7 separate regions of the Homo sapiens genome follow, and regions 1, 2, 3, 4, 6 and 7 are each linked to region 5. The links are contacts of gene promoters, found by promoter capture Hi-C in blood cells and fetal thymus (Javierre and others, 2016). All regions are on one chromosome and are shown on one strand. Each heading gives the region's core, a stretch centred on a gene start or on the middle of the fragment in contact. The rest is flanking DNA. Distances are from core to core; before and after follow the strand shown. Region 1 overlaps KALRN (kalirin RhoGEF kinase). Region 2 overlaps KALRN (kalirin RhoGEF kinase). Region 3 overlaps KALRN (kalirin RhoGEF kinase). Region 4 overlaps MYLK (myosin light chain kinase). Region 5 holds the start of ROPN1 (rhophilin associated tail protein 1). Region 6 overlaps KALRN (kalirin RhoGEF kinase). Region 7 overlaps KALRN (kalirin RhoGEF kinase).

The links. The method cuts DNA at HindIII sites, captures the fragments that hold promoters and counts their contacts. A CHiCAGO score of 5 or more calls a contact.
Region 1: a contact is called between a fragment that was not itself captured here and the fragment with the promoter of ROPN1 in region 5, in 1 of 17 cell types (M1 macrophages). The highest score is 7.0, in M1 macrophages.
Region 2: a fragment that was not itself captured here is called in contact with the fragment with the promoter of ROPN1 in region 5 in 1 of 17 cell types (endothelial precursors); the score reaches 5.1 in endothelial precursors.
Region 3: a fragment that was not itself captured here is called in contact with the fragment with the promoter of ROPN1 in region 5 in 3 of 17 cell types (M1 macrophages, M0 macrophages and endothelial precursors); the score reaches 7.0 in M1 macrophages.
Region 4: a fragment that was not itself captured here is called in contact with the fragment with the promoter of ROPN1 in region 5 in 3 of 17 cell types (M0 macrophages, naive B cells and endothelial precursors); the score reaches 5.4 in M0 macrophages.
Region 6: a fragment that was not itself captured here is called in contact with the fragment with the promoter of ROPN1 in region 5 in 1 of 17 cell types (endothelial precursors); the score reaches 5.2 in endothelial precursors.
Region 7: a fragment that was not itself captured here is called in contact with the fragment with the promoter of ROPN1 in region 5 in 5 of 17 cell types (endothelial precursors, M1 macrophages, M2 macrophages and 2 more); the score reaches 7.9 in endothelial precursors.

The regions. Positions count from the first base shown.
Region 1 is chr3:124,400,181-124,403,646 of GRCh38, forward strand. All of the region lies in intron 13 of KALRN (kalirin RhoGEF kinase), which reads left to right. Among named protein-coding and RNA genes, the nearest start is that of MIR6083, 28 kb to the left of the region's middle. The HindIII fragment of the contact is 165 bases long and covers 1,569-1,733 here.
Region 2 is chr3:124,431,945-124,435,054 of GRCh38, forward strand. KALRN (kalirin RhoGEF kinase) reads left to right here. Exons shown (of 60, transcript NM_001388419.1): 17 at 2,363-2,581. Among named protein-coding and RNA genes, the nearest start is that of MIR6083, 59 kb to the left of the region's middle. The HindIII fragment of the contact is 4,450 bases long and covers 1-3,110 here.
Region 3 is chr3:124,487,990-124,491,502 of GRCh38, forward strand. KALRN (kalirin RhoGEF kinase) reads left to right here. Exons shown (of 60, transcript NM_001388419.1): 29 at 215-326; 30 at 2,705-2,895; 31 at 3,334-3,435. Among named protein-coding and RNA genes, the nearest start is that of MIR6083, 120 kb to the left of the region's middle. RefSeq lists an enhancer at 2,691-3,513. The HindIII fragment of the contact is 5,495 bases long and covers 1-3,513 here.
Region 4 is chr3:123,650,614-123,653,946 of GRCh38, forward strand. The region is part of intron 24 of MYLK (myosin light chain kinase); the gene reads right to left. All of the region lies in intron 1 of LOC124909421 (a long non-coding RNA gene), which reads left to right. Among named protein-coding and RNA genes, the nearest start is that of MYLK-AS2, 37 kb to the right of the region's middle. RefSeq lists an enhancer at 3,099-3,333. The HindIII fragment of the contact is 2,795 bases long and covers 1-2,707 here.
Region 5 is chr3:123,990,586-123,993,780 of GRCh38, forward strand. It overlaps ROPN1 (rhophilin associated tail protein 1), which reads right to left and starts at 1,539. Exons shown (of 6, transcript NM_001317774.2): 1 at 1,337-1,539. RefSeq lists an enhancer at 1,311-1,827. The HindIII fragment of the contact is 3,137 bases long and covers 1-2,932 here.
Region 6 is chr3:124,305,684-124,309,116 of GRCh38, forward strand. The region is part of intron 6 of KALRN (kalirin RhoGEF kinase); the gene reads left to right. Among named protein-coding and RNA genes, the nearest start is that of MIR6083, 67 kb to the right of the region's middle. The HindIII fragment of the contact is 4,472 bases long and covers 1-3,433 here.
Region 7 is chr3:124,461,221-124,464,752 of GRCh38, forward strand. KALRN (kalirin RhoGEF kinase) reads left to right here. Exons shown (of 60, transcript NM_001388419.1): 24 at 670-736; 25 at 1,304-1,413. Among named protein-coding and RNA genes, the nearest start is that of MIR6083, 89 kb to the left of the region's middle. The HindIII fragment of the contact is 4,372 bases long and covers 1-3,532 here.

The sequences.
Region 1 (3,466 bases), core at 401-2,900, 410 kb after region 5:
AACTCAGTACAAGAGACTATCTTGGGAACAGCTACCCTTTGCTTTAATCCTAGGTCCAAAAATGTTCATATTGAGAATCTGAAATGTAAAAGAAAAGCAATCATAAAGGTACTCATCTTTCTATCCCCTACTCTCTTACAAGCACATCTGTACTCCTGCCTCCTTGGGAGAACTTGTAATTTCTTGCTTAAAGACTTCATGTTCTAAAAGGTGCTTTCTGGACAGGTCCTGGAACAAAGGAGAAGTTAAGCCTTTAAATCTAGACCTTAACTATCCTTCCAACTGATTTCATAACCTTAGGAGAATTTATTTATATTTATTATTTATTTTGAATGTACTGTCAGGATTTCAGGTGGCAAGTAGTATCAACACACATTTTGAAAAACAATAAAAATGCCAGTGGGAAAATAAAAATATTGACATGTAGTGAAGAGTGTATGTAGTGAACATTGTAAAGGCAGGGTAACAAGGTAATAAAGAGATAAAAGAGAGGGTATGGGTCATTATTCTTTAGTAATATGGATTGAGATGTACAAAAATAAATACAGGCTAAGTTGATTAAAGTAGCCCAAGGCATTCCTGCAATCATTCCTCAGCTCCATTTTGCCCACTGGGAGAGAATATATCCATGGAGAAATTATGTTAGCAGGTGTGGTGGTTTTGCTGTTGTACTTCTTATTTACTCTCCTGTCATTCCAGGTCTGCTTCAAAACATGCTTAAGGGGGAGGAAACAATCTGAGGGTTTGGATTAAGTTTTATTTGAAAAGATAGCTGTGACCTGGAAGTCAGGGTTGCTGGTTCAGCGCTGGAATGGGTCAGTTAGCTTCACTTTGACATCGACTACACCCCTCACATCAGCTGGGGGCATCGCAAGTGTGTCTTTACTAGCATCGATTGTAGGCAAATCAAGTTCCACTCCTAAAAAACAATCCAAAGCATATGGAGAAAATATCCTTTAAAAAATGTGGGTTTAAATCACATGCATTAAAATTGGATCTGGCTTAAAGGTTACGAGAGAGGAACTTGACACTTAAATTATGGAGCCAAGGGTGGTGGCTCACGCCTATAATCCCAGCACTTTGGGAGGCTGAGGCTGGCAGATCACTTGAACTCAGGAGCTCAAGACCAGCCTGGGCAACGTGGTGAAACTCCATCTCCACCAAAAATATAAACAAAAACCGAGTGTGGTGGTGAGCACCCATGGTCCCAGCTACTCAGGAGGCTAAGATGGTAGGATCACTTGAGCCCAGGAGGCGGAGGTTGCAGTGAGCTGTGATCACACCACTGCACTCCAGCCTAGATGACAGAGTGAGACCCTGTCTCAGAAAAAAATAAAAAATAAACAAATAAATTATTGGATTTGCATTCTTTAGCCTTTGTATGTATAAAAATTCCTCGTCCCACCCTAAGTACTGGACAACCTGGTATGCAGGAGAGCAAGAGTGTGAGGGCCTCATAAAATGAGGGAGAGAAAAATCATGATAGGATCCTGCATCCTCTGGTGTAGGCTATAACGTCCGGATTTTACAAGGGGTCTTATTCCCTTGTCTTGTGGGGGAGGCCCAAAAGCTTGGGGAGAATGCTACATCTAATCTTAGAACTGGAAATCCTGCCAAACCTATAGAAAAGTTCTGCTTCAAGTCAGATTGTCAGAAGTTATTTTTGAGGGTGTTGAGATTATTCAAATACCAGCTATGTCTCACTGTGGGGATGAAGAACAAACTTTTAGAGAAGCTTCTGGTGTGAAACTGAGGGTGGTTTCTGTAACGAGAGGCGTGTTTATGCTGACATAAGCCAGGGCAGGGTCTGTGATTACAGGACCTACAGTGTGGTTTCCTTCCTAAAGGAAGGCATTTGATAGACATGCTCCAAATTCCTCAGGATTACTGAACACTGGAGGAGGACTGCTACCCTGCATCTGAGGAATCTAAACATGACTCCTTAGCCATATCACTGAGGGCCCAGATGAGCCAGTTAATGTAATCATTAGGATAGCACATGAGCTGCTGCACCAATCTCTTTGTACTCAATAATAATGGTACTCACATTATAACCTGGAATGAGATCATAGGGCATGCCCACATAAAGTGAAACATCCTAAATTTGTTAGTCAGATGTTCAAAACCAGGCCCATAGCTGGATTCCTGGTATACCTTCTTGGACTCCATGGAGACCAAAGTGACCTATAGTGGAACATGATGTTCTATAACGTTTTTTTCCTTTAGGTTCAGCCTCCTTCTATGAAAGACATTTTATATAAACTAGTTATGATAGAAGAGACATTTCACCAAATACAAATGTTTATTTTGTGATGGTAAGAATACAGGTGATTTTTTTTCTTATTTTTGATGCTTTCTTGCATTTCCAAGTTTTATACAATTAGGATAATCAGAAAGAAATGAAAAATATTTTTAGAAGCAAGAATAGGCCAGTGGTCTCCAAACATTTTTGATTGTGTGCCTTCTCAATTTTTTTGAACTTGCAACCCCCTACATATAAATATTTATTCATTTTTAAGTTATAAAAACGTTCGGTCACTGCCTAATAATTTCAAAATTCAACATGCTCTTTGGGAGAGGTTTAGTTTTTTCATTAGAAATTGTGGGTTCCATATTTCAAATAGTCTTCTGATAATTTCCAATTATTTTTTGCCTGGTTTCTTGAGAGATCAGATTAGATTGTCATTGTTGCCTTACCCCATAATGTGGCTGACAGAGAATTCAAAGTTCTCTTGTGCTTTCATGATTGGTATTATCTTCAAACTGCAGTTTCTTTGCAGGAAACTCGTTAAACCACGTGTCTTTTTGTGAAGGTTAGTTTAGTTAAAACTAGATAGTAGATAAATCTATTTAACTGGACACATGAAAAAAAGCAATAATTTGAAATGTGCTGAAAGCAATGAACAAATGAGCCACAGTCAGCCACTGAGTTGTGACACTCCTACCTTCCCCCCTTCCCCGAGGAGCTCTCTTTTTCGTGCACTACACAAAGCCATCTGCCATGTGGTCAGAGTGAGACTCCAGCACCAGTCTACTAATGAAAATCCTGGGAAATTTTATATACTTTGTATTGGCTTGATAAAATATATGTGCACAATATAATATATATACACATATATGCATATTTATATCAAGATAGTTTTTCTACCATCATTGGATAATTTGGGGCATTTTCTGAGATGGGCATACTTATGTTGGAAAGCCTTAGAAATGACACTAAGAAGGATATTCTAGACAAGGGACTTTCTGAAAATATGGGCCACCTTTATGGTTTTTCTTTTAAATCTCTAACTGTGTAATTGCAAGCGAGGTATGCTTAATGCACCTGAAAGTTTATTTGAGTAGGGAATGATATATCAATTCTAAATCTATGGGGTTCATGTAAAACAAATAGGGGCCAGGCTAAGGCTGGGGAGAAATGGCATTCAAGGAAGAAACTTCTGCCTAGAGAAGATAAGCTGATTAT
Region 2 (3,110 bases), core at 392-2,891, 440 kb after region 5:
AAACTTCATATTGCACACACAGCATCAGCAAATCATTTTCTAAGGCGGAATTAACCAAAGGAAATGAGTTTTATTATCATCAGCTGTCTCTATTGTAGCTTTCTGACACACTGAAATATCACAGTGTTAGCATGTATTCACTATAAAGAAAAAATCAGGATTGGGGTTATAATCAAGAATCAGGGCCAGACATGGTGGTTCACATGTGTAATCCCAGCAATTTGGGAGGCCAAGATGGGCAGACCTCTTGAGATCAGGAGTTCAAGACCAGCCTGGCCAAATGGTGAAACCCCATCTCTACTGAAAATACAAAAAAAAAAGTAGCCAGGCATGGTGGTGGGTACTTGTAATCCCAGCTACTCGGGAGGCTGAGGCAGGATAATTGCTTGAACCCAGGAGGTGGAAGTCGCAGTGAGCTGAGATTGCGCCACTGCACTCCAGCCTGGGTAATAGAGTGAGACCCTGTCTCAAAAACAAAAAAAGAATTGGGCACATAGCAGTCAAGTTCCCACAGTCATAAGCAGCAACGAAGAAAATGAAGGCTGAGCGATCAGATTAGAGGTATAGCACAGTTATGAGGCATGCTGGGCAGAATGAAGACAGCTCTTGGCCATACCTCCTCTTTATCTTCAATGAAAAGGTTTGCCTCAATCAAATGGTGGCCAAGTAAGACCAAGTGTCATAACACACTTAAGCATCTCAATGAGCTTTTGAGGAAGCATGGGTAAATGTATTCACAGTGCTTGAAATGACTATATTCCACATGACTGCATATGCAATATGTATTCATTTGTGTTAGACACCATTTCATCTTTACAGAATAGAGGCTCACTAAGCATAAACACCTCTTAATCAGTTCTGGGTTTCTATCTGGATACAACTTGATCAAATATTCTTGGAATTGATGTTGAGATATAGGCCACTTAGTCTCGAGAGGGCATGGCAGAGCAGTTAGGATTTCTAGAAGATATTGGGAATGAAAGGTAGGCAGAGTCTGCATTGCCTAGAACAATGAAGGGAACGGAACCAGAATTGCAACATATGCTCCTTCTCCAGGTGGCCTGTGCTTCTCCTTAAATGTTTCAGTTCAGACTAGGTTCTCCATCAGAAGGAAAATATGCCAGGGAAGATAAGCTATTTCAAAGGGAGTGAAAGCAGTTGGGTTTGGCTTAACCCATTTTGACAGTGTTACTAGAGGCCTTTACAATGATTGTTGGTGGGGAGCATAATTTGACTTCTTTCTTGAACCCTAAGAAAGGACCCTGGGTTCCATCAGGGAAAATAAAAAAGTTAATAAAAAATAAAAAGTAAAAAAGTAAATAAAAAGTTAATAAATAAAAAGGATTAAAAAAAAAAGAACTTCTGGTCAGATGTGGTGGTTCTTGCCTGTAATCCCAGCACTTTGGGAGGCTGAGGCAGAGGATCATTTGAGGCCAGGAGTTTGAGACCAGCCTGGGCAGACAGCAAGATCCCATTTCTACAAAAAGTGAAAAATTAGCCAAGTGTGATGGCACACACCTGTAGTCCCAGCTATCCATCTACTTTGGAGACTGAGGCAAGAGGATTGCTTGAGCCCAGTTCAAGGCTGCAGCAAGCCATGATTGCACCATTGCACTGCACTTCAGCCTCGGTGATAGATCAAGACCCTGTCTAAAAAAAAAAAAAAAAAAAAGGAAAGAAAATAGACCTTCTACATATATATGTATCTCCTCAAGGGATATGTAAATAACATGGGGATTATGTATTGAAGTGAATTATCTCCTGCACTGTTATGCCCCCCAGTGAAGTAATTAAGGGATGATGTAGGAGGTTACTCTCTAGCTTTATTAACCTGCCAAATTTATTCCTTCAACTGGAATCTTTTTCAACTGATTATTAATGTTTTAAATGATTGCATTGTTAGCTGAGATTTGTGTTACATGAAGTTTCTTTTCATGTGCTGTCTATACTTGATCTGTAAAATGGGACTGCAGTAGTAACCTCCTTCGAAAACTCAATGTACAATTTTATTATTCTATTTGTAAAGGAAATTTATGAACCAATTAGTGAGCAGATTGATACATAACTTCTGTTTCTCTGCTACAGAAACTGAAATGTCCTTAAAATCTAGAGTGCTGCAAGGAAAAAGAAAGAAGTGGGGACAGGAGTTAGGGTCGTGAGAGATTAGCTAATAAAAATGTATGATATTCTTTTTTTAAATATGCTTTAAAAATAATAATGTATTAATGGTCATGACAAAATGGATCAGTCATTTAAAGCTCTTTAACTTCTCTGCATCTTTTCACTCACGCCTCACTCCACCCCCTCCCATACCACGCCTGGGTTGTTCCCACGGACCTTTCTCTCCTCTCCTTGTGCCCAGTCCCTCTTTCATGCCACTTCCTTGCAGAAGACGCACCAGAGTGCCCTGCAGGTACAGCAGAAAGCCGAGGTGCTGCTCCAGGCCGGCCACTACGATGCCGATGCCATCCGGGAATGTGCTGAGAAGGTGGCCCTCCACTGGCAGCAGCTCATGCTGAAGATGGAAGACCGGCTAAAATTGGTCAATGCCTCTGTGGCCTTTTACAAAACTTCTGAACAGGTGAGGGAAAAGACTGTGGGGCTTGTGGGGCTGAGATTGCCAGGGGGCCATTTTCTGCCTTGCAGTGTAAATGTGCAGTGCTTATGTCAGCGAGAAGCCTGTCCTTTCAGTACTAACATTTGAAGAATAGTTTGTGGAAACACCACAGTTGACTTTCTTATCATCCTTTCCATTTGAGCACTGGACTATGGGGTTTGTCTCATAAATTTCTGAAACTCACCAGATCTATAGGGAGGTGTTGAAATAGAAATTGGGTGTATACTAAATGCTAGATTTGGGCAGTATATTAGTCAGCTGTTACCACCATAGTGCTGTGTAACAAAACAATCCAAAACTCAGTGACATAAAACAATAAACATTTATTTTTTTCTTAAGTGTCTTAGGTTCAGTTGATTTTGGCTGAACTTGGTAGAACTAGGCTTCGAGCTGCAGACTGGGTCTAGATCTGTTCCCATGTCTCTTGTCCTCCTTGACCTGAAGCCATCTCAGGCACATTTATAGTTAAAGGCAGGAATGCAAGAGTCCAAAA
Region 3 (3,513 bases), core at 139-2,638, 500 kb after region 5:
TTTGGGCTAGATTGGGCTGAGAATGCTCAGTGTGGGAGAAAAATAGTGCTTGAATTCTTAGAGATAACCCCTTTTACCCCACCTCACTTTCTTTATAGCTCAGAGGGAACCATTACAGAGAGCGAAGCTGGTCTATAATTTCCTTGCTGGGTTAGGTGGTGGGAGGAAGCTGGGGGAGATGGCCCTAATTATGTCCGGACTTTTTTTTCCCCAGGAACTTTTAACTTGCTGTGAAGAAGGGAAAGGGGAGCTCAAGGATGGCCTGGAGGTGATGCTCAGTGTCCCAAAGAAAGCCAATGATGCCATGCATGTCAGCATGCTGGAAGGTAGCTGTCCTCCCAGCACTGGGGAAGCCTCCTCTCTTCCTTGACACGGGGGAGCTTGTATCATGGGAGGGAAGTGGCATGAAGTTAGACAAGGTGCAAGGCTGGAAGAGAGAAGAAATGACAAGTAGTTACATAGGCCCTTGTCATGTGAGAGGGGCTCCACAAGGACCAATTTGGCTAGCACCCTGCTTCTAGGAAGGACCAGGCCTAAGCCACTGGAGGTTATGTGGACATGTTGCTGCCCATGAGACAGTCCAGGACAGGCCATCACCCTCACTGTTGATGTGCTAGAGCTTCCAACCTACAGCAGTCTTGTTAGTCTGCATAGCATCTGCATTACATTGCCTTGGTCATCACAATGAATAGAAAGCCTGATCACATAAACACACACAGACACACATACACACAAAACATACCATCTTCAGCCTTATGCTCTTTTTTTGTTATTATGGTAAAATATACATAATATGTATAACATAAATTTACCATTTTAACCATTTTTGAATGTACAGTTCGGTGGCATTAAATACATTCACATTCTTGTGCAACCAGCATTTTGTCCTCTAGAAGGTTAGTAAGTCCAGCCAAACAACTCTGATAAGACTTCAGTCAGATGAAGCTATCTTCTTGGGACCAGAAACCTGTAGAGTAAGATTCCAATAAAGTGGTCTTAACACTGCAGAATGAGTGGGCAGAGCAGCCATACTGGGGTGGAATTTGTTAGATGAGTTAAGATTTAACATTTTTTTGGGAGGCCAAGGTGGGTGGATCACCTGAGGTCAGGAGTTCCAGACCAGCCTGGCCAACATGGCGAAACCCCGTCTCTACTAAAAATACAAAAATTAGCCAGGGGTGGTGGTGCATGCCTGTAATCCCAGCTACTCGGGAGGCTGAGGTGTGAGAATCGCTTGAACCCAGGAGGCAGAGGTTGCCGTGAGCTGAGATCGCACCACTGCACTCCAGCCTGGGCGATAGAGCAAGACTCCATCTCAAAAAACAAAAACAAACAAACAAAAAGACTTAACATTTTTAATGGGTGCTAAAGGAAATGTGTATAGTCTGTTGCAAATATGTAAACACGTGGGCTGTTTTTTCTCTTCTGGACTCCATCCTACTCCGCCAATACCACCAACACCACCTTGGGAGACTTGATACGGTCTCCATACTTCCCAGACCATCCTTAGCACCAGAAGCCTCAATTCTTAGAGCAAAGGAGCCCTGGCTATTTTCCCTAGGCTGAGCAGGAACCATCTCAATGTATTCCTGTTGACATTTTTCTCCACTCCTTTCCTCTCTGTTTGTACCTTCCCCTCCACCCCACCCTGGAAGTACCTGCAAGTACCCAGCTCCTCCAGTCTGTCCCTGACCTATGCTCTGGATCCAGCTACTCCATGCATGGTCTGTTTACCAGCAGCAGCAACAGCACCTGGGAGCTTGTCAGAAGTGCACATTCATGGACTCACCCCACACCTACTAAATCAGAATATCTGGGGAGGTTGGAGGGTGGGCAGTAATCTGTGTTTTCACAAGCTCTCCAGGTGATCCTTATGCACAGTAAAGTTTGAGAGCATCTCTTAAAAACTTCAAGTGGTATAAATATAAACTGTTGAAGGCTTGTGCAAAGTAATCAAAGGGAGGAATTCTAGAAATGGAATATAAGAATTAAGGTAGGTCAGGCACAGTGGCTCATGCCTATAATCCTACACTTTGGGAGGCCAAGGTGGGAGGATCACTTGAGCTCAAGACCAGCCTGGGCAACATAGGGAGACCTTGTCTCTACAGAAAATACAAAAATTACCTGGGCATGGTGGCATGTACCTATGACCCAGCTACTTGGGAAGCTAAGCTGGGAGGATCACTTGAACCTGGGAGTTCAAGGCTGCAGTGACCCACGATCATGCCACTGCAAAAAAAATAAAAAATAATAATAAGAAGAATTAAGGTAATGAATGACACATAAAGAGGAGCTGAAGACACTCAGTCAGGCAGTGTTTGTCCTCAACCCCACTCATAGCTACAAGTCAGGAACAGTAGAAAGTTGTGGAGGACAAAGGAGCTATGGGATTTGCCCTTGCAGGAGGCCAACTGTGGGTGTGTGAAGGTGTGAGGTTGCATAGGACCTTTGCAGGAGATTCCACTAATATTGGTTATGTATATAAAAGACATGGTGCAGGAAGGGGGCAGGAGAGATCTAATTGCAATTCTCAGAGATGTCTATGGAAGTGTTCAGCAGTCTCTGGAGTTAGCAGAGAGAAAAAAACCCTTCAGTAACTGAAGACTAACAATAAGAGAGGCCTTTCTCCAAGAGGGGGGTGGAACATGGCCCCCTGACTGTGGCAGTAGAGAAACTCCACAGGGTGGAAATGGATGTTTTTCAGGGTTCGACGAGAACCTGGATGTGCAGGGGGAGTTGATTCTCCAGGATGCCTTTCAAGTGTGGGACCCGAAGTCGCTGATCCGGAAGGGGCGGGAGCGGCACTTGTTCCTCTTTGAGATCTCCTTGGTTTTTAGCAAGGAGATCAAAGATTCTTCAGGACACACGAAATATGTTTACAAGAACAAGCTACTGGTAGGTGGGGCAGGTGGGGTAAGACAAGACTCCCTGCTTTCATAGAACCCATGGGCAGGAAGGGATCTGGACACACTCATCTCATCTCCTCCCCGGCCTCCACACCAAAACCATCCTGGACAAATGAAAATGTCTCCTATTTGGAAAGCACCCCACTCACCTCCCACGTCTGCATTGTAGAGTTCACAGTTCTTCTTTCTGTTTGCTTTTAGCACCTCCCTCTTCACCTTCCCTCCCTGGTACCTGCTAATCAGGCACGTGCCTGTAGGTCCTTTCATCCTGGGTAGATGAACAGAATATCCAATCTGTTAAAGTTTGATTGACAGAAGCCCCTCCCTCGGTCCTCTCCTCTTTGTTGCCTTTCCCTTCCCACCCCAGCCCTAAGTTTCCCCACTGCCCTCCCCTTCCCCGCCTCTCATAGGCATTTCCTGTCTACAGACCTCAGAGCTGGGTGTGACCGAGCACGTGGAGGGCGATCCCTGCAAATTCGCCTTGTGGTCTGGGCGCACCCCATCCTCAGACAATAAAACAGTGCTGAAAGTAAGTACTGCTCTCTGCTAGGCACAAACTAGGGTTGGGGATAATAGAAGTGGGGGTGGGCAAGTGACACCTCAAAGC
Region 4 (3,333 bases), core at 60-2,559, 340 kb before region 5:
AATAAAAAAGGATGAGATAGACAGGGACACCCAGATAGTCTAGCTGAAGTATCAGAGGTGGGTTTCACGGTTACTGTCGGGATGTGGGCCTAACTGGTCAATATTCCTAAATCCACATGTTGGAGAGTTAAGAGTGGCATTGTCCAATTCACAGGTGGAAAGGATGACCTGAGAGCAATGCAACTAGAAGCCAGGAATGGAGTTAGTGTTCAGGAGAATCTGATCATTCTACCTTTTAGGGTGGTGAACCCTAAAGTCCATAGTTAATACCCAAGACAGAAACAGCAGCTCCTCAATCTACTGCTTGGGCTGTCAGATGCTGTCACAGGGCAAAGTGTGCATGGGCCCCAAACAGGGGTGAGTACTGGGTAGCTGTTGAGAGCGCCCTGGGTGCCTGCCCTGGAGCTCTGGCTGTCGGCAGTCCAAAAGCCACAATGGAGCTGGAGGTGGCAAGCAAGACCACTGAAGGGAAGGGCTATGTCTTAATCAGAAAAGGTGAGGCCTCTGAGGTTGGGAAAGAAGTCTAAAATGGACATGACTTTAAAGAGAATCACACAATCGCCAAGGATGAGATGAGAGTTTCAGACTTTTCATCAACTCATGACTACTGCATCTTGGGGGAACCATTTAGTGTTCTACCTCACGTAGGAGGAAGGCTGGAGGGATATGGAACTCACACATGAGAAGTACCACTAGAATAATAAGTATGTTCAATAGACATTTAGGTTAGTTCAGTGATGATATTATAAACAGGGTTTTAAGAGAAGCAACAATATTGGAGTCAATGAGTGATGGGACACCAGGTGGACCAGTCACTGGACTAGGTCTTCGACACAGAATCATCCTATTTACTGTCAGGGAGGCCCCTGTCTTGACCTGTGGTGCTGCTGCCTGATATAGTGGTTCACCAGTTGAGTCATCCTTTATTTCTTGTTCCTGTGCCACATTTTCCCGGCGTGGCATGGAGACCAGTGTATTCCAAGCAGCAGAGTGAGAGGGAAAGGAGAGGGCAGCTTTCCTGGCCTGGTGTCAGGAGAAGCAGTCTTGCCAATGGCCCGGCAGCAGGAGGCTTTCCCTGCGTGCCTTGAAGGGGGCATCCAGTCCTAGAGCTGGCCCCTGCCTGTCACTGTGAGTCCAGGTAGACAGCCACAGGGCCAGCCTCTGGCCTCACTCATGAGCCCACATCCATGCCTCACCTTCGCCTCTCACCCCAGAGGTCTGTGGCAGATCTGATTCTCATGCTAATGCTCTGGGGGAAGGACCTAGATCATTCTCAAGGAATTCCAGCCCCTCTTTCTAGTGCACTGTGTTCCTTTATGCTGCAGGAAACTCGGATCAAGAGTCCGGACTAAGCAGGGAGCAGTGGCAAGTGCCTGTAGTCCCAGCTATTCGGGAGGCTGAGGCGGGAGGAATGCTTGCGTCTAGGAGTTCAAATCCAGCCTGTGCAACAGAGTGAGACCCGATCTCTTTAAAAAAGAGAAAGATTCCAGGCTGCTACATCCCCTTCTGCTTTTCCCTTCTTGTCCTGCCTCTCTTCTATTTGACCACAAGGGGAGGAGTGAGAGAGAAGTAGAGGAAAGACCACAGTTCAATTAGCAGAGCTCTTGGTGCATAAAGGGTTGTTGAGAAAGGTGAACTGGTTTCCATCTTTCCACTAGGGAAGGGTCTTCCACTGAACTTAAAAAAAAAAAAAATCTGTTCAGAATGAGCTATGAGATCCATGAGCTAAGTGGAAGGCTATTTGGAAGATGGTTCTGAGATATTTCTGCAAACAGATGAGAGTCTCGTTACCCTGGAGTGTTTGGGAGAGGATCAGCTGAGTGCTCAGGACCCTCACATGGCACAAGTCCAGTCAGTCCCCTGGACAGAGAATTGTCCCTTCCTGCAGCCAAGGACTGTTGCACACCCAGAGAACACTAGAGGGCACCCCCGCCCCGGAGACGGCCTCTGAGGCCAGGGCGTAGCTGCAGCCTGGGATGGGAGCGGTACAGGCTTTATATCTCGAACTGTCCTGGGGGTTGCAAGGAGGCTCCAGTTCTGCAAGAAGCCTCAGTCACAGTAGCTGTTTTGCTAACAATTATACAGACTAGAACAAATTAGGGTAAGGAGCAGGGATGGAGTGGATTTGAGTGACAGCAGGATTTGAGGAGGAGTACAGTTCAAGACCTGGCTGGGCTGGGAGGGAGCGGGGCTGTGGTAAGGTTCTGGCTCTGTGCACTTGGGTTTGGGAGTACATTGTCAGTTCAGGGACCCTAGTCTTAGGAGTGGCTCTGGCATAGAGAAGCCACTGGAGCTCCACGGGGAACCCATGCTTTGTCCCCCAGTGTATCCCCAGTGCCCATGGCAGTGCCTAGAACACAGGAGGGGCACAGAACACATGGTGAGTGGATGTGGGATGAGGGCTAGGGTACCAACAGGGATGCAAATGAGGCATGAGAATGAAGTAGAAGAGCGAGAGGCAGGAGTGGCAGTGGCTGTGGTGGTAGTGGTGAAGGTCAGAGCCAACATTAGCCGGGCTTCATGGAGTGTGGGTTAATCAGCACTGCCTTTTTAATATGATCCCACCCCATCTGCTCCACAGAAATGACCTACAATGACCTGTCACTTGATCCCACCTCTCTGCCAACACACACACACACACGTGCGTGAACACACACGCCACTTCCCTGAGAGCCATTTCCCTCTTCAGCAGAGGGATGGCCTATGAAGCTTTATAACTAACAAGCATCTGAGCAGACCGTGGAGGACTTTTGCCTGGAATCCCCTCAACCAGAGTCCTCTGCCCTGAGGCCTAACACTTGCCAACTGTTCTGCCCTCTTCCTCCTCCCCCTTGGTAATCCAGCCAGCCTCAGCTGGGGAGTAGCTTCCTGTCTGGAAGCCCTGGGTGGACTGGACTCCTCCTCTGGATTTCAAGTGATTTCAACATTGCCCTTTGTCTATTCCCAGCTGGGAGGGGTGGCAGCAGGGGAGGGGAGTCTGAAGGCCCAGAGAGGGTTCAGCGGGCTGATGGCAGGGAACAAGGGAGAGGCCACTTGCCCCAGACAGGCAGTCACAGCTCTTCCTCCTGGCAGAGTCTCCACACAGCCCTGGGAGCAGCTGTCCTAGACCCCTGGGGGCCACACCTTGTAGCTCCCGTGGCCTCTGGTCCTGCTGCCTGGGGTTAGTCGGGGATTCTCCAGTCTCTCCCTCTTTACACCATAGCACAGACCTGGATGATTTCCTTTCCAGCCAATGAACATCTTCACACTGCAATCTTACTCCTTTTCCTGTCACTTTTCCAAGTAACATCCTAACACCACAGACTGGAACTTGATTGCCCCCCTGGGACCCAC
Region 5 (3,195 bases), core at 289-2,788:
TGTTCACATCAAAGAAGTGGGAGAAAGGTCCATTCTATCTTAACATTCCTCAATTCTAACATTTTGTAAAGTTATTTTCCATTTTTAAATCTCTTGATAGTGTAGGTCTTCTTCAATTATACATTCCAGAGCTTATCCATAACCCCAACTCTTTCAATTCAATGCATTTCCTCCTAAGTGAAACCTACATGCCTCTCAATGTAAAATGGAGGCCAACATATACCTGCCAAGTGCTGAAGAATGTAGGTCTTAAAATAGACTATAGCCTTGTTTCAGGGATCTCTCACTTGGTTTTATTGGTATGGGCTAAACAGGGCTTCCGTTTCATAAATGAAAGTCTCCAGTAACATGAATGAAAGGCTCCAGGGCAGAATCTCAGAGGGTTTCTATGAGTATCACTTGGAACCAAGCACAGGCAACTGCACATCCCTGTTTGGGTTTGGAATTGGAGATGGTGGGTTTGGGATGTGGTTACTCTTGTTTGGAATACATTCTCCTCCTCTTAACAGGTTGATTCTTCCTTTGGAGGTCTGCTTAACCTTCCCTGATTACCCTGTCAGTTCCATTGTACATACCCTTCCAGAGCATCACTTACCTATCCTTAGTGTGATTCTTTGAGTAACATGTGTCTCCCCCAGCAAACTCCACGGCAGGACTGGTCAGTTTTTGCTCACCACACCATCCCAGTGCCTAGCCCAGTGCCTGGAACTTAGTGTTCAATAGGTACTAGTAAAAATGAATGCGTGATAGCAGTCTATGAAGTGCTAGCTATAAAATGAACACGTGATAGGAGTCTATGAAGTGCTAGGTATAAAATAATGCGTGATAGGAGTCTATGAAGTGCTAGGTATAAAATAATATGTGATAGGAGTCTATGAAGTGCCAGGTATAAAATAATGCCTGACAGGAGTCTATGAAGTGCTAGGTATAAAATAATGTGTGATAGGAGTCTATGAAGTGCTAGGTATGCCCATGACATCCACATGACAATTCACCCAGAGGTATTTTTATATCCCTGTCGCTGATGAAAAAGCAGAGGTGTGGCTCCTCGGTGGAGGGCTCTGATTCCAAACTCTTGAGCCTCCCAACCACTGTCCTCCGGGTAAGAAACCGTATAATAGTATTCTGGGTACAAAATACGCACACAAATTGGCCAGAAAGCCATAATCCCCCACAGTCACATTCTCTTGAAGATCCCCTTGCCTTCCCCTTGCCCTGTGAACAAGGAGAGGCTCAGAATCCAGGGGGCGTCCGGCAGGGCTCCTCCCTCAGACCAGCGCAGCCCTCGGGGCGCTCAGAGCCCTGCCCTCCCTCCACTTCCCCTCGGGGTGGCTACCTCAGGCTCGCTCCCAAACCGGCTGTCTGGCTTCAGGCGACACCTGGCGCCTGGCCTCAGGCGAGAGGTGTGGGGAGAGACCGAGTGCCTCCCACCCTTCTTAAGAAGGAGAGCAGTAGAACCTCGGCGGGGAGGGCAGCAGCGGCCGGGGGTGACAGCAGCGGCGGGGCACGACCGCCGTTAGCGTTAGACGTTAGCGCTCCGCCTTCGCCTGGCAAACCCTGCGCGGGCTCCGCTGCCAGGTCACCAGGGGTAGCGCCGGGCGCGACGTCACAGAGCCGCCCCGCCTCTCCTGCAGCGGCGGGTTCCCAGGGTCCCGCTAGGGCGCTGCTAGGGGACGCTGAAAGCTGTTTTGGGCTTTGCTGGTGGTGGAAGGACCAGACGGCCTGGAGGGTTAAGGACTGGGCTGGGGACGTTAGGAAACCCGGGCTGGGGGCGTTGGGGGTGGGGCGGAATGTGTAGCCATTGACGGTGCGCTTTTGTAGGTGAGAGGGCAGAAGTGGAGCTTGATCTTTCGGCTTGTGGAAAGTGGACAGGTGAGAATTCCTCAGGAATCATAGTAACAACACTTCTTACAATGAGTTTTTGGTGCCAGGAATTGTTCTAAGTGCATTACACACATGAACTCATTTCATCCTTACTGTCACCCCATGAGGCAAGTACTATTGTTATCCCCATTTTTACAGATGAGGGAACTGAGCACAGAGAGGTTAAACTTGTCCAAGATGACAGTCAGCAAGTGACAGAGTCAGGATCTGAATCTGGGTTGCGTGGTCCCAGATTCCTCACTCTTGACCTTATAATGCTAAGAAAGGGGCATGGAGTGGATAGGAACAGAGCCTGAGATGCCTGGGGACAACAGGGAAAGATAGAAAATATTTATAGGGTAGAATGTGGTCACTGTGCCAGGGCACTTTTACAAACATGATGACATCAAAGTTTCACAGTAAACTCTGAAGGTAGGTATTACCTTCGCTTTGGAAATAAAAAACAGGCTCAAGGCTTCGAGTAATTTTGCCTGTGATCGAACAGCTGGCAGTAGGGCTCAGGGCCCAACTTTACTCCAGGTCTTCCGGTTTCAAGACTGTGTGTGTGTGTGTGTGTGTGTGTGTGTGTGTGTGTGTGTGTGTGTGTGTGTTTTGAGACAGGGTCTTGCTCTGTTGCCCAGGCTGGAGTGCAATGGGGTAATCATGACTCACTGCAGCCTCAATCTCCTAGGTCTAAGCAATCCTCCCACCTCAGCCTCCCAAGTAGCTGAGACTGCAGGTGCTTGCCACGATGACAGGCTAATTTTTATATTTTTATAAACGGGGTTTTGCCATGTTGCCCAGGCTGGTCTTGAATCCCTGGGCTCAAGTGATCCACCTGCCTTGGTCTCCCAAAGTATTGGGATTACAGGTTTGAGCTACCGCACCTGGTCTCAAGACTGTTCGTTTTAAGCACCCAAGGAGGCAAGAAAAGCCCCATCTTTCTCTGCTACATCCCGTGTCACTTCACACCTATTTTAAAGGGGCCCATTGCATCATCTAATCCTTCATTCCATTTATACAACAGTGTGTATTAGTCTAAATAGATTAGTTCACCCAGGCCCTTCAAAGCTTTCTCTGTTTGTGAGATGAAAGCCTTTGTCTCTCCCTAAAGCAATTTTAAGCATCAGTGAACAAGTGGGGGAACTAGATTTTTGGGTTACGCATGCAGAAAGCTTTTCACAGCCTGTTGTCATCCATTTGTAAAGAGGCCACTCTGCTGGCATTTGTCAAAATCCTGTAGGTCCTTGCACACCTGGAGAATCCTGGATGGTCTGGGGATGGCCACTGCCCACAGGGCAAGATCTGGGGATGAAAGAAACCTAGTCACTA
Region 6 (3,433 bases), core at 74-2,573, 310 kb after region 5:
GGAGCTGTGGGGGAGTGGGAATATTTCAATAATCCAGTCACTAAACAAATAAGCAAATAACAACAACAAGCTCTAAAAGAAGTGGGAGACCAGTACCCAGAGTTGCTGCTATATGACCTAAAATGTCCAATTTTCAACAAAAAAATTATGACACATGCAAAGAAACAGGAAAGTATGACCAGGAAAAAAAAGGAGTAAAAATATGTACTAGAAAAAAAATAAAAAACAGTCAATAGAAATCACCTGTGAGAGCAACCAGATGTCAGATTTTACAAAGACCTTAAAATTGCTATTATAGATATGTTCAAAAAACAAACCATAGTTGAAGAATTAAATGAAAGCATAATTACAATGTCCCCATCAAACACAGAATATCAGTAAAGACATTATTATTATTATTATTTATTTTGAAATAGGGTCTTGCTCTATCACCCAGGCTGAAGTGCAGTGGGACAATCATGGCTCACTGCAGCCTTAACCTCCTAGGCTCAAGCGGTCCTCCCACCTCAGCCACCTGAGTAGCTGGAACTACAGGTGCATGCCACCATGCCTAGCTAATTTTTCATTTTTTGTAAATATGGGATTTTGCCATGTTGCTCAGGCTGAGAGGCTTATTTTTTTAAAGGAAATATGGAGCTGAAAAATACAATAACTGAGACAAAAATTTTTTAGAGAGGCTCAATGTAGATTTGAACTGACAAGAAAAAACAGAATTAACAATCTTGAAGATAAACTAATAGAAATTATGCAATATGAAGAACAGAGAGAAAAAAGAATGAGGACAAATGTACAGAGCTTCAGGAAAACATGAGACACCATTAAGTGCACCAACTGCTATGCATAATGGCAGTACCAAAAGGAGAGGAGAGAGAGGAAGAAACAGAAAAAAATTATTAAATTATTAGATGAAATAGTGGCTGAAATCTTTCAAAGTTTATTTTAAAATATTTATGGCCAGGATGCTTAAGAAACTCCAAGTAGGATAAATTCAAGAAGATCCATAAGCAGACACATTATGGCAAAATACTGAAAGCCAAAGACAAGGAAAACCTTAAAAATAGCAAGAGGAAAATGACTTCTCTGTTACAAGGGAACCTCAATAAGATTAAAAGCTGATTTCTCATCAGAAACAATGGAGGTCCAAAGGAAGTAGGACAACATATTAAAAAGTGCTCAAAGGAAACAACTGTTAACCAAGAATACTATATCCAACAAAACTATCATTCAAAAATCAAGGTGAAATAAAACTATTCTGAGATAAACAAAAACTGAGAAAATTTGTTTCTAGCAGATACACCTTATAAGAAATAATAAAGGAAGTTTTTCAAGCTAAAAGCAAGTGACCCTTGATGGTAATTTGAATCTACACCAAAAGACAAAGAGCACTGATAAAGGTAATTATGTGACTATAAAAGACAGTATAAACACACATTTCTTCTCCTTTTTTCTCTTAATTGATTTCAAAAGCAATCATATAAGATAATATGTACATAATGTATTGTTGGGCCTATAACATAAAAATGTAATATGTTTTCCAGTGATAGCACAAAGGAGGTTGGTAGGAGCAAATTTGTAGTAGGCTAAGGAAATTAGTCCAGATGATAACTTGAATCCACAGAAACAAATACAGTGATTCAGAAATGATAAATAAGACTAATATGAAAAAAGCTATAAATATATAGTAATCCTCCTTTTTTGTCTCAGCTTCTATAAAAGACATAAAATTACAGAAAGTGATACTTATAACAATCTAATGTTTGGTTTGTAACATTTATAAATGTAATATGTATAAAATATGACAAAATGTGAGGAAAGGGAATAAAGCTCTATAGGAGTAATATTTTTATGTCTCACTGGAATTAAGTTAATGTACAGTAGAAGCTGATTCTGATAAGGTGTATATGGTAAGCCCTAGAGCAATAGCTAGGAAAATAACTCCCAAAATATAGTGAAAAAAATCAATCAGTAAAGATACCAAGATGCTACACTACAAAATACTCACTTATGCAAAAAAAGCAGTACAGGGTTATAGAAGTATAAAAAAGACATATAGAAAAAAGTCAAATGGCAGACATAAACTCTATTAATAATGACATTAAATGTGAAAGGATTCAATAATCCAATCAAAGGTAGAAATTGTCAGACTGGATTTAAAAACCAAGATCCAGTTAGTAACACTGTCAAAAAACATTTTTAAAAAATATAAGACCCAATCTAATTGCTGTATACAGGAGGCACATTTTGGATTCAAAGATATAAATAGATGGAAAGTAAAAGGATAGAAAAACATGTATTATGCAAACAGCAATCAGAAGAATAGCCAAGTGACTATATTAATAACAGATTCTTAAGTGCATTTTAAAAGAACAGCAAAAAGTTACTAAAGATAAAAAGCAACTTTTTAAAGAAGAAGAATGTCACTCTATCAGGAAGATGTAACAACTATAAGCACATATACACCTAACAAAAAAGTACCAAAATACACAAAGCAAAAACTGACAGAAATGAAGCAAGAAATATACAATTCAAGTGTATTAATTGGAGACTTCAATACCCCCTTTTAATAATGGATGGAACAAATTAGCAGAAGGAAATAGAATACCTAAACAAAGAAATAGAAGACTATAAGCCAAATTGAACCAACAGACATCTATAGAACACTCCATCCAACAATAGCAGACTATATAATCTTCTCCAGGACATGAAACATTGTCCATAATAGACCATATCCTAGGTCAAAAAACAAACCTCATGAAATAAAAAAGGATAGAAATAATGCCAGATATTTACCCCATCACAATGGAATGAAATTAGAAATCGGTAACAGAAAGAATTTCAGAAATTCACGAATAGGTGGAAATTAAATAACATCTTCCTGAATATCCAATAGCTAAGAGACAAAATAAAAAGGAGAATTGGAAACTAATTTTAGATGAATGAAATTTTTGACACATCATACCACAACTTACGTGATACAGCTAAAATTGTGCTTAGAGAGAACATATAGTTGTAATGCCTATCTTAAAAAAGCTAAAAAAAAGTTCTCAATAACCTAAACTTCCACTTTAAAACACTGGAAAAAGAAGAGCAAACGAAACCTAAAGCAAGCAGAAGAAAGGAAATAATAAAGATTAGAGTAGAAATTAACTAGAGAATAGGAAAACAATAGAGAAATTTAATGAAACCAAAAGCTGGTTTATTGAAAAGGTCAACCAAACTTACAAACCTTTACCTAGAACAACCAATGAAAAAAATTACTAGACTCAGAAGTGAAAGAGGGGATATTATTACTTACCTTACGAGAAAATAGTATTATAAAGAGATGCTATAAATAATTGCAAGCCAATAAATTAGATAATAAATGAAATGGACAAATTCATAGAAAGGTAGTAACAACTGATACTGATTCAAGAAGAAATAGATAATCTGAATA
Region 7 (3,532 bases), core at 455-2,954, 470 kb after region 5:
ATGTTTTTATTGGAAAACAGCCACACTTATTTTTTTTTACACATTGTCTATGGCTCCTTTCACATGACAACAGCAAAGTTGAGTGGTTGTGACAGAGACCGAATTGCCCACAGAGATTTATTATCTGGCTCTTTATAGAAAAATTGCTAACCCCTGATCTCGGTGTGTTGGACCTCTTTTCCTGGCTTTGAAACCTGGTTTATTATGATACTAAGAACTGTTTTGGTATATATCTACAAACTCTACTGAACAGAAATCTTCATTCTGGGAGCTGTAGGAGAAATGTGGAAAGCTGAGATTCAAGCTATCTAGTTTAGTTGGTGAGACAGAATATGAACAGTCCTACATGCCTGTACTCACATGAATATCACCACAGAATCACAAGTATTAATAGTAGGACTGGGGTGGAAAAGGGAGAGAGAATATGGACCTAGCTGAGCACAAACCTGCTAAAGGGTTACAGGGCCAATGGTCAGGAAATATCACAAGTATCATAGGAAGATACTTGTAGGAAAGGGAAGGAATTTTGAAGAAAGGAAAAGACCTGTTGATGAAGTAGAAAAATAAGACATTTAAGAATGTCATACATGCTGGGGTGGGGAAGTGAAGTTTGAAGGAGGAGAGACATTATATCTATATCCAAGTAAAAGCCCATTTGTTTCCTTCTAGATTTATTATGGCTGAACTACTCCAGACAGAGAAGGCTTATGTAAGGGATTTGCATGAGTGCTTAGAGGTGAGTCTTCCAGTAATCCGTTCACAGCTATATTGGAAAAATGACATCCTTGCCAGCATCAAGTCCTCAATTGGAATTTGGTGCTATTGGTCTTCTCCCAGAGAGTAATGAATTAAAAAGTCAACAAGAGGAAATCTTTCTCCTAAAGTCAACAATAATTACATGAGAGTTTAAAGTACTTTTGAAAAGAAAGTTTAAACTTTTCTCAGACTGGAGCTAGACCCAGGAACAAGAAGTGTGTAAGGCACTTCAATTCAAAATAAAACCATGACACAGTCAGTGAACTTAAATTGGGTCTGAAAATCTGCATCCTGACCCCCATAAAAGTCCACACACATTTAATAAATGACAAGAGACTGTGGAGTTTGTGTTCTTGCTAAAGTTCAGGATAATGAAATATTCAGGTTTTATTTCTTTCTCTTATGTTTACTTAACACGTCACTTTTTAAACTCTGCACGCATTTACAGTTTGAGTCTTGCCCCACAAGTTTGAGCACCTGTGTATTTTGTCTGTATTTTATATGGCCTGCCAGACTTGCCAGTGATGAAACTGTTACTGTCTTACAGACCTACCTGTGGGAAATGACCAGTGGTGTGGAGGAGATCCCCCCTGGGATCCTCAATAAAGAGCATATCATCTTTGGCAACATCCAAGAGATCTACGATTTCCATAACAAGTAGGTTTGTGGAGGGTCTCAGAGGTGCACACTTAGGCCGTAAAAACCAGACAACAGGGTTCCCAAGAAGTGGATCAAAGGCGATTGGTGAATCTTATCTGGTCAGTTTTCTAAGGCAGTTGCTGTCAGACTTCTTTTTTACTCACTCCCCTTTCTCCATAATTGTCCGAAAGTCCTAGTGGAGAGTAAAGTCAAGTATTCAGCAGTGCTCCTCCCCATCTCTCCTCAACATCCTCATTTATTCAGCCAGAATGAATAGCAGGCTTTGAAGAAATAAAAGTAGCTTCTCCTCATTAAATCTTGTGGGAAATCCTGACGTTAGAATTCATCTGAGGCTAACCATTCCACCTTGTGATCTTTAGGTTTTGAATTCCATTGAAGTTTTCTATCAACCTAAATATTTCCTCCATCCTCATTTTATTTCACATTTCTTGACAGTTTGGAGGGAAGGATATCAACCGATACTCTGTTTTGTTGGAATAAGTAGAATTGTAGAGCCCTAAAACTTCACAAGTCATTGTTTCCAACTTGATTTAAGAATTTTTCCCACACCATACAAAACAGCATGTTCCATGGTTAACAAAGGATCAGCAAAAAAATTGGCATGATAAGTTACATAACCAACCAATAGAAATAACTGTGTTTCCAAAATACAAATAGAATCTCAAGACACAAAGAAGAACATGGGCATAAAGTCTTAGAGCTCTCAGGACCCTGCTGCAGAGCAGTGCTGTGCCAGGCTAGCAGAGGCATTTACTGAGTTGTGTAGGTTTGCTGGAGATAGAAGGGCCATGTGTACAGGTGTAGCAGCCACCCTGAGGCAAGACTCCAGAATAGCACTGTCCCATGGAACCTTCTGCAATGATGGAAATGTTCTATATCTGCAGTGTCCAATACAGTAGCACTAGATATGTGTGGCTAATGAACACTTGAAATGTGGCTAGTGCTACTGAGGAACTGAATTTTCAATTTTATTTAATTTTAATAGATTCAGATTTAAATAGACCACAAGTAGCAAGTGGCTGCCATATTCGATATCTCAGCTCTAGAATAGCCCTGTGCTAAGAATGACCAAGAGGCAAGCAAGAATTGGGTGTAAAATGATCCTGGGCTGTAATAGGTCCAGATAAGGGGTGGAAAGTCACTCCTCTCTCTTCACCTCCTGGTTATTAATTCCTGGTATGTCATCAGATGGCATCAGTTTAAAGAGAACATAATATATGTAGCTCCCATGGCATGCAAACCTTGTGAGATTATTGAAGCAATACGCTCTGGGGGAAAAATAACTGTTTGACTTTCTGGAATATGTGATATAAGTTCCCAGTCTTTTGTTTTTTTAATCATAAATTTTAACACGATCCATTTGGTTTGTCTGGAAATTTCCAGATGTAGAAATATCATGTCCTCATGCTTATCACTGATAAGAGCCCAATAAAACTATTTGACCATTGATCCCAAATTCCATCATCTGAGCCCAGCTCAGTATCATCCCATCTCCCTCAGGATATCTGAGAAGACATCGGACTGGCAAACGGTAAGTCGTGTTACCTTACTTTTCTGGCTTATGGTCTCTGGGATTTACTCAACAAGTCTCACTTTCCCCATGTTCTTAGCCAATTGACTAACTACGGAAGCCTAGAGATCACAGCACGCACTTTCTGGGAGCCCTACATTTGCCAATCAGTTTATAAGGGGAATGAATATACATTTCCAAATTGATCACTTGTAACAAAATAGCTAACATAATCATGCCTCTTATTCTGCTGTCATGATATCACTGGTAAACCATGGTAAACAGTTTTGTAGTTTTCTAAATAGCTGAAAATCTACCTACCAGTTACAATATATAGTTCTAAGAAATCCTTTTAAAAAATCAAATTAAACCATAGAGAATCTCGCATGCTGTAAATCGAGGAATAAATCCAACTATCAAGAACACAGCTACCCAGCACATATTATCGAGTTAGAATATTATGAAGAAAGAAAAAGAAAATAACAACTAGCCTCTCAACAACCAGAGAAGATGCCACAAAAATTAAGTTCTTGTCTTTTCATAGAAGCATCTTTCTATCCTCCCTAACAACCTCTTTACCTCTTGATTATATAGTTTGTAAGCCCA